2 separate regions of the Homo sapiens genome follow, and region 2 is linked to region 1. Evidence: promoter capture Hi-C in 16 types of primary human blood cells and fetal thymus (Javierre and others, 2016). All regions are on one chromosome and are shown on one strand. Each heading gives the region's core, a stretch centred on a gene start or on the middle of the fragment in contact. The rest is flanking DNA. Distances are from core to core; before and after follow the strand shown. Region 1 holds the start of UBQLNL (ubiquilin like). Region 2 has its middle 11 kb from the start of OR56B2.

Region 1 (4,929 bases), core at 290-2,789:
GATAGGGAAAAAGTAAAATATTAGCTAAGAAAATGGTACCCTCTCTTTCTGATGCTTTGGCATCTCATATTCCTTTTTTCATAAATCCAGCTCCCGGAACTCAAGAGTTCTGTGATCTAGAATTGTCAATCTCAGGTTGGGAACACCTGATTCCAGTGCAGAAGCTGCAGGGCAGCTGGTCATTAGAGTAGGATATGAAAGTTCCCTTTCTTATCTCCACCTTCCTGTGAGGTCCCTGGGGAGAAAAGGGGCAAGATCTTGGTCTGGTAATCAATTTTTCATTGTCCTGGATCGATCTCACTTTTGAGTGCAATTGCAAGAGAATAGGCCTGAGTCTTGCTGTAGTAAGTTAGCAACTGGCCTTATAGCATGATGAGGATCTGACATGGATGGTGCTGGGGGTCTAGATATTCTCAATAAAGAATCATTGGTTTGATAGCAGAAGGTCTCCTGGCCAACGGCCTATCATCCCTTTGCTTGTCTTCAACACACTGGGAACATATGGGCTCGAGCTTTTTGCTTGTTCCTTAGCTATCTGTGTGGTGCTCCTCCCTCTCCAGGCAGGTGGATGGAATATATAAAATCCAGACCCTGAAGGCTTCCTAGTAACACAGAATATGCATACAATTTCATATATACATTCGATAAGACATGTACACTCTCACTCATATAAATAATTATTTCCATCTGCATCTAAATAAAAACCAAACACAATTCTCCAAATTTACATGGGACCAAGAATCCAGCTTTTTAGTTGCCTGTATTTGTCCCCTTAAGAATTTTACTACTAACCACCTCCTCTCCCACCTCTTGATTTACAGACGACATTCCCCCTTAATGCTTTGACATAAAGGTGGGCACACAAGAGTGGGTTAGGACATTGAAACAAATCATTCTAAAACTTCTGTTATATTGACATGTAGAAGAGACCAAGTGATATGTGAATAAAAGGCATATTATAAAAAAGAGCTAATTCACATTTAGTTTGGCATGTGCCTATGAAGAGCCTTCCTGGTTAGCCCTACTCCTGCTTCCTAGGACAGAGGAAAATTTTCCCCACCACATGGGAGCACAATTAAATATAGAATCCCAAAATCTAGACTCTATATAAGACCCAAATTTCCAGATCATTAAAAAAATTAATGCGCTCCTTCCTATGGGAGAGACTGCATTCTTATAGGAATGTGGCTTTATCTATGGCTTCAGTAGACCCAACTTTTCATACAAGTCTAACATCCCTATAAGGAACATACACACAGTATCACACGGAAACACACATCCCACATTTAAAAATATGGTTTTTATTTACTTTTTTGTTTTCTTACTAGTTCCATCCAGAGAACTTTGTCCCTGTTTTCTGGAAAATTATTTTATTTTATTGTAGAGCCCTGGACCCCTAAATATGTCCTCCTTCCCCAGCTGGCCCAGGGTGACTGCGAGGATAGAGTTGACATCACAATATCCCTTTTCTGAGGATTCATGCCCCTGGTGGGTGGGGTAGGAGGAGGGGTAGCCCTAGGAGAAGTCATCACCACTTTGTCCACCATGGGTGAATTATGAATCAGTAGCTATGCCAGGCCTCAGCTGGGCCACATCTGGAGAACTGGGGTGAGGGCACAACATCACAAAATATCTGGCCCCAGTCTGGTCACTCATCCCTTTTAGGGCAACAAGGAAACTATCCTGTGGCCTGAGAGCACAATACCTGAGACAAAGGCCAGCAGAAACATTTGTCTGCCCTCACCCTTTCTGCCCCAGCTTCCACCTGCTCCCCATCTGCCCACCCACTAAAGCCCATGTGGCATGCCATCTCTCGAACATCCAGGATGTCCCAGAGTGGATGTCCATCAGGTCTGCTGGCAGACAAAAATATCTCTTCAAGTGCCACTCGAGTGATAGTGAAGACTGCAGGCAACCAGAAAGACTTTATGGTAGCTGATGACATCTCGGTAAGGCAGTTCAAGGAGATGCTATTGGCTCACTTCCAATGCCAGATGGACCAACTAGTGCTGGTCTTCATGGGTTGCCTTCTCAAAGACCATGACACACTGAGCCAGAGGGGCATCATGGATGGCCACACCATCTACTTGGTCATCAAGTCCAAGCAGGGCTCCAGATCTCTAGCCCATTCCTTCCGGGACCTGCCAACGAATGATCCCTGCCACCGGGACAGAAACACCAAAGGAAACAGCAGCAGAGTGCACCAACCAACTGGTATGAATCAAGCTCCAGTGGAACTGGCCCACTTTGTGGGGTCTGATGCACCCAAAGTGCATACCCAAAACTTGGAAGTGAGCCACCCAGAGTGCAAAGCACAGATGCTGGAGAATCCTAGCATCCAGCGGCTTCTGTCCAACATGGAGTTCATGTGGCAGTTCATTTCAGAACATCTAGACACGCAACAATTGATGCAGCAGAACCCAGAAGTTTCCCGCCTTCTTCTTGATAATTCTGAGATCCTATTGCAGACTCTGGAGCTGGCCAGGAACCTTGCTATGATCCAAGAGATAATGCAGATCCAACAACCTTCACAAAACCTTGAGTATCCACTGAACCCACAGCCATATCTGGGCTTAGAGACAATGCCAGGTGGGAATAATGCCCTGGGTCAGAACTATGCTGATATCAATGATCAAATGCTGAACAGCATGCAAGATCCTTTTGGAGGAAACCCTTTCACAGCTCTCCTGGCAGGACAAGTGCTAGAACAAGTCCAGTCTTCACCCCCACCTCCACCACCATCACAGGAACAACAAGACCAGCTCACACAGCATCCTGCAACCCGAGTCATCTATAATAGCTCTGGTGGTTTCTCTTCAAACACCTCAGCCAATGACACCCTTAACAAGGTCAACCACACTTCCAAAGCCAACACTGCTATGATTTCCACCAAGGGCCAGAGCCATATCTGTGCCACTCGGCAGCCAGCTTGGATACCAGCCTTACCTAGCATAGAGCTTACCCAGCAGCTTCAAGAAGAATACAAGGATGCCACTGTTTCTCTAAGTAGCTCCAGACAGACATTAAAGGGTGATCTCCAGCTGTCAGATGAGCAGAGCAGCTCCCAGATCACAGGAGGCATGATGCAGTTGCTTATGAACAACCCCTACCTGGCAGCTCAGATTATGTTGTTCACAAGTATGCCCCAGCTGAGTGAACAGTGGAGGCAGCAGCTGCCCACATTCCTGCAGCAGACACAGATTTCTGATCTGCTTAGTGCTTAGGCAACCCTAAAGCATTCCAAGCAATATTGCAGATTGAGCAGGCCCTCCAGCTGCTGGCCACAGAGGCTCCTGTTCTTCTGCCTTGGGTTGCACCCTACCTATGGGGCCTGGGTTGGCTTCCTGCCCCCAGCTGCAGCTATCCTGACACAGTGCCCTGTTCCTGGAATGTTTCAGATACAGCTGAGCCCAAGGGACCTGAGTGCTGCCACAAGCCTGGAACAGTCCTGCAGAGGCTACAATCCCCGGATGGGGACCCTTCCCACCCTCTGCAAGCTCCTGAGATTTGTTTTAGCAAACAGATGGATTCTCTCCAGGCCATGGGATTTGGGAACCACCATGCCAATCTACAGGCACTCATTGCTACTGAAGGGGACACCAATGCTGCTATCCGCAAGCTCAAGAGATCCCAGAGATTCTAACCACCATGCCTACTTGTTTGCTTGCTACCTGCCTGCTGACCCACCTGACCATCTCATTTGCCTTTTGCACCTTTCCTGATGCTTCCAGCCAGGAGAAGTCCTGGAATAAGAGTTATCAACCAATGTGTCTTGTACTGAATAATAGATCATTGGTCGTGGCTGAAACATCTGTCAATAAAATGGCTACACTCACTTGCTGCGATCTGAGGTTTGGCTTTACTTCTTTTGCAAAAAAAAAAAGAAAAAACTAGCTGTGTGAGATTTTTGTCTCACCTACTATATGTACATTAACACACAAACCACATGCATATATTAATATAGAGATAAAAATAATGTTTTTATCTCTAAAACATGAGCATTTTGAGCATGGTATATGAAACTTGAGCATGGTATATGAAACTGATTATTTTGAGCATGTCACCTTGGACAGGTGTGTGTATGTACACAAGCTCACATAGTAAAAAATTCACATATACAGGCATATAGAGTCCACATATGAGTACACACAGCCATGTGCAAACACAGATGCAAATACCTAGAGACACATAAATAGACCCATATGTAGGGAAAACAATCATAACATGCTCAAACAGAAAGGGAAACATTTTACATAGATAGGCCCAGATATTTAGTCATAAAGACTGCCTGAATTTCTCAAACCCAAATTGTTCAAGTTTGAAAGTGGAACAGGAATAATATGAGGGCCAGAGTAGGGTGAATTCACATATTAACCAAGTCCGGATGAATAGTTATCATCATTGGAACCTCCTGCTCGTTGATTTTGCCACCATTATAAGATGGTGATGGGCTGTCTCTACTGTCTCTTTAGCACACAGAGATGCAGCTGCTGCCATCTCCACTGTATATCCCAGTCACCACAAATCCAGCCCTCCATGGGGCACAGCACCTTCCAAGAATATCACCTCCTTCAGTATATCTATCTTATGTTTGTAGTTTACATTTTCCATGGTTGCCAATGCCCCACCTTTTTCTCTTTCTGCCTCACCTAGAGTATCCCACCATGGCAGGATATGCAATTATTTGTGTTTTAATGATTCCATGATTAAATAATTTAAAACACTTTTACCATAATAATTCAATGTTGTTTTAGGCATTGAAAAAAATAGCAGTGAAAAAAACAAAGATCCTTTATTTATTGACTTTACTTTCTTTTGTGGAGATACAAGTTATGTTAAGTGGTAAGTGCTGTGAAGAAAAATGAATCAGAATAAGATATTCTACATAGGGTGATGAGGGAAGGCCTCTCTGAAAAGGTGACATTTGAG
Region 2 (4,929 bases), core at 1,714-4,213, 250 kb before region 1:
TAAAATAAAATGTGTTACATATGCACAGTGGGATACTATTCTACCATAAAAAAAAAGTGATACTGTCATTTGCAACAACATAGATGGAACTGGAGATCATTATGTTAAGTGATGTAAGCCCGGCACAGAAAGACAAACATCTCATATTCTTACTTATTAGTGGGATCTAAAATCAAAGCAATTGAACTCATGGACACAGTAGAAGGACGGTTACCAGAGGCTGGCAAGTGTAGTGAAGGTCTGGGCATGGGAGGTGGAGACAGTACAAAAAATAGTTAGAAAGAATGAATTAAAAAATAGAAAGAATGGGTACAAAAATAGAAAGAATGAATAAAAGTTACTATTTGATAGCACAACACAGTGACTATTATCAATAATAATTGTACATTTTTTAATAACTTAAATAGTGAATTGGATTGTCACTCAAAGGATAAATACTTGAAGGAATGGATACCCCATTCTCCATGATGTGCTTATCTCACACTGCATGTCTAGAGCAAAACATCTCATTTATCAAATAATAAATACCTACTATGCATCCACAAAATTTAAAAATAATAAAATTAAGTGTACAATTGAGTGGCTTTAAATATGGTTACAATGCTGTGCAACCATCACCTGTATGTAAGCCCAGAATACTTTCATCATCTCAAAAGGAAACTCCGTAACCATTAGTCAGTCTGTCCTTATCATCCTGTCCCCCTTGGCTCTGACAGCAATTCATTTGCTTTCTGTTTCTATGGACTATTGTAGGTATTCATATAAATGGAATCACACAAGAGATGGGCAACTGAGTCTAACTTTTTCACTTAATATGTTTTCAATAGTTATATATGTTGCAACATGTACCATACTTCACTTCTTCTGGTGACAGAATAATAATTCCATAATAATTCCTTTTATGGGTATACTTTATTTTGCTTATCCTTTCAGCAATCGATGGATATATACGTCATTTCTACTTTTTGATTAATAATGTTGTAAAAAATATTCCTGGAAAAATCCTAGGGAAAACAAAGGATAACCCCAAAAGGTAAAATAAATAAATAAGTAAATAAGGTGGCAAACCAAACAAATATTTTGGTTTGGGAGGTAAAGGTTAATTATTTAATCTCTACCACAAGTTGATCCTATTTCACAGGGCTAGGATATATATATATATATAAAATATATATATATAAAATATATTTATATACACACACATATACATACATACACATACATACATACATATGCAATAAAAAAGTACAAAGGCAAAACTATATACAATATATGCACAAAGAGTTTCATAGAAATAGAAACTAAACATACTAAAAACCTTCCCCAAAATTTTTTGAGGAAATATTAAAGTCAAAGTAGAAACCAAAGAAAGTAAGTACTGGGTAGAGACAACTTTCGATAAACAATAGATGAAATGCATGACACCATGCAATTAAAGCTGATTGCAGCACTGTTCAGAATAGCCAAGATTTGGAAGCAACCTGTGTCCATCAACAGATGAATGGATAAAGAAAATTTGGTACATATACACGGTGGAGTACTATTCAGCCACAGTAAAGAATGAGATCCTGTCATTTGCAACAACAGGGATGGAACTGGAGATTATTATGTGAAGTAAAATACCATAATAATTATGTTCAGGCAAGAAAGACAAACATCACATGTTCTCACTTATTTGTGGTATCTAAAAACCAAAACAATTGAACTCATGATCATAGAGAATAGAAGGATAATTACTAGAGGCCGGGAAGGGTAGTGGGTTGGGGTGGGAGCTGGCGGGGAAGGTGGTGATGGTTAATGAGTACAAAAAAAAAAGTTATAAAGAATGAATAAGACCTAGTATTTGATAGCACAACAGGGTGACTATAGTCAATAATAACTTAATTGTACATTTAAGAATGAGTAGTATAATTAGATTGTTTGTAACACCAAAGATAAATGCTTGTAGGAATGGATAACCCATCCTCCATGATGTGATTATTATGCATTGCATGCCTGTATAAAAACATCTCATATACCCCATAAATATATACATGTAATATGTACCCACAAAAAATTGAAAATTAAAAAAAAATCAAACTGATTGAACCAAATTGTTTCATTTTCCTGTCTGACACAGTTTCCCTCAAGCAAAATAATGGAAAACACTGAAGTTATTTTTCTCACATTATTAGTACACAATGAAAATTTTAAAATGGGGAATCCACTTACATTAACACAACTTCTTGGCTGATCTTCAATTTTCGACTTAGCAACACTGGTATGGATTTACACAAATAATTTCAAGGCTAAGAAAAGCTTTGTAATTAGTATTCTGGTTATAAGAAAAATATGTGCTTACAAAATGAGAAAGTGTTTCCTTGTATAACAAAATTATCAATTTTCTTTCTGTGAAGCTTGTAAATTTGTTCTTCATGTTTGTGTATTCTATTTTTCAAATTTCCTTTACAATTTATTATTAAAGAAACTAAATTAATAATTTATACACATACATACATAATTGTATAGATTACTGTGAAAATAAGCTAGATTTTCTAATGTAGTTTGATAAATATTTGACTAATATATGCCAAGTTCTCATAAATATTTGAAAAATATTGAATTATTGCTTGCTTTTCCTGATCGATTCATTTAAGCAGTCAACTCTTAACTCTATATGTCTGTAACAGAAGCAAGTAGAGAAATTAGAGAACGTAAAGATACCTCTAGGTTGAAAATAAAAAATATATCTTTAGGATGAGTTATGCTGTCTTTATCTCACATTGCATATTTATCTTATGTTACATATATAATATCTCACATTATATATTTAATATATATTACATTATATCTCATATATTTAATATACCTTATATTAATATATATTAAAACTGTAACTATAAAAGGGAAACACATAAATATCCTATTTATGTCTCTTGTGTTTCCTTTTTATATAGTTTTAATTACTAAAACTGGCTTTATTGTTACATGAGAAGTTTAGTTCTCATCTCAATTACATTTATAAGCATCTCAGTTAAAGATCTTGCTGATACAAAATAATATAGCACTAAGCACAAGTTATATAATACTTTCTCCAAAACAAATTAAAAACGCTTTTTTTAAAGTTAGCAAAAATTTATTTTACTTTGTTAATTCTCTCTTCTTTTAATACAGCAGCTACATTTTAATTTTATCTTACATGCCGCTTTCTGTATTTCTCTAATTTGTGCTTCCCGAGAGTCAAAGGGAAAGAGATTTCGATTGAGAAAGATGTCTGTTTGAACTGTACTATAAATTGCCTCTGAGAATGATATTTATACTTGCTGGAAACTCAGCTGGGCAATGTGACTGCTGTGGCAATGTAAATTTACACAAATCTATCTAATTGCTGGTGATGAAAGAAAGATAATTCAGCTTTATATTTTATGAAAAAGGGAAATTATAATACCTTCTAGTCCCCAATACGCTGAGTTCCCGATTATCAGGATTTGAAGCTGAGGGCCACAACTTTTTTTAAAAAGTGATGAGTCTCATCAAGAAATATAAGCTTATAAAATGCTTTTAATACTATATTACTTTATAATTCTGCAAGAATAATAGATTTGTATTATGCTGTGAGTGAGTAGGTCTATTAAGTGATAACATTAAAAACAAATACCACCATTTATAAAGTATGATTTTGATATCATCGGTTGTGCATTTTCACCCCAAACTCTGTAAATAGTAACTTTGTTTCCTCACTTGACCATGCTCAGTCTTTACAGACCATGCTCTTTTCTCAAAATGACTGTAGGTTCATCCAAGTATGTTTGCTGTCCAAAATCAATGAAACACAGTCACAACTATGTCTGTCTAGGAATAAAGCCAGTTAATTAGATTCTTATTCTAAGGAACAAGAGGAGGGCAGGTAAGAACTTGATTATGGAAGAATTCTGACCATAATCAAGAACTGTTTTCTATTTTTTCTCCATGTTGTCGGGTGGTTCATACCTGACTTTCATCATTTCCAATGATTCCTGTTTGCTTTGTTTATAAATATTCAAAATCATCATAAAAATTTCGCTGAATGAAAACCTGAAAATTGGGGAAATAAACATTCTGCAAAACAAATGTCTGCAACACTTCTACCTTCAAACTAAGTGGATGAAATCAAGTCTGAATTTCTGAGAATAATAATAGTATACACTCAAAGATTCTGTACACTTTGGCAAAACATCTCTCCAATTTATCTACTATGAACTACAACAAGAAAAATCCTGTCACTACCCCTGTCTCCTTTTTATGTCCTTTAATACCTAATTTCCAGATGCCAATAGAATGAGCTGAATGCAGTTTGGCCCAGATGTTCAGAATCTTGGTCAAAGAACACATGAGAATCCTACAATATATGTACATGTACTCCCCCCAACATTAAAATCCCTTGATACCTTTACTACTGATATGAGCCTTTAAAGAAAATTATGTGTTATATGTCCCAAGGGGATATTTCATATAATTAGGGTCACAGTGTTGGAATTAAGACAACGCTCACAGGAGATGAAAGGGTGGAAACACTCCATGCTCATCACCTATATGATGCCTCATAAGTAACTAGTGAATACTTTCCTATGAATGTATCTGTACATGTGCTTATGTGTGGCCATGTATATGTGGGGGGAAGCGAGAAAGAACACAGGATGTTTTTATTTTAAAAATTATGTTATTAATAAGATTGCAGAGTTGTTTCTTTTTGCTTAAGGCCTTGTGGCATACAAATTGGAAGCAAGCACAGAATGTGTTAATTGCTCACACAGACAACTTTGCATCTTCCTTTTTTTATGTTTTCATGTATTAAGTAACATCATTGAGTGCTTCATACTCTCAGAGTTAGTCTAGGAACTTTGAAAAAAGCATCAGAAAACATGGGCCTTGGTTTTCAAGCAATTTATTTCCAAGGAAGATTGGTGATGA

The links. Contacts are between HindIII fragments. The CHiCAGO score rates a contact against its expected background, and 5 or more counts as called.
Region 2: a fragment that was not itself captured here is called in contact with the fragment with the promoter of UBQLNL in region 1 in 1 of 17 cell types (monocytes); the score reaches 5.2 in monocytes.

Annotation. Positions count from the first base shown.
Region 1 is chr11:5,513,309-5,518,237 of GRCh38, reverse strand. UBQLNL (ubiquilin like) reads left to right here and starts at 1,539. Exons shown (of 1, transcript NM_145053.5): 1 at 1,539-3,845. The coding sequence starts at 1,797. The coding sequence ends at 3,224. The HindIII fragment of the contact is 7,757 bases long and covers 1-4,929 here.
Region 2 is chr11:5,769,218-5,774,146 of GRCh38, reverse strand. No RefSeq gene overlaps it. Among named protein-coding and RNA genes, the nearest start is that of OR56B2, 11 kb to the right of the region's middle. The HindIII fragment of the contact is 1,130 bases long and covers 2,399-3,528 here.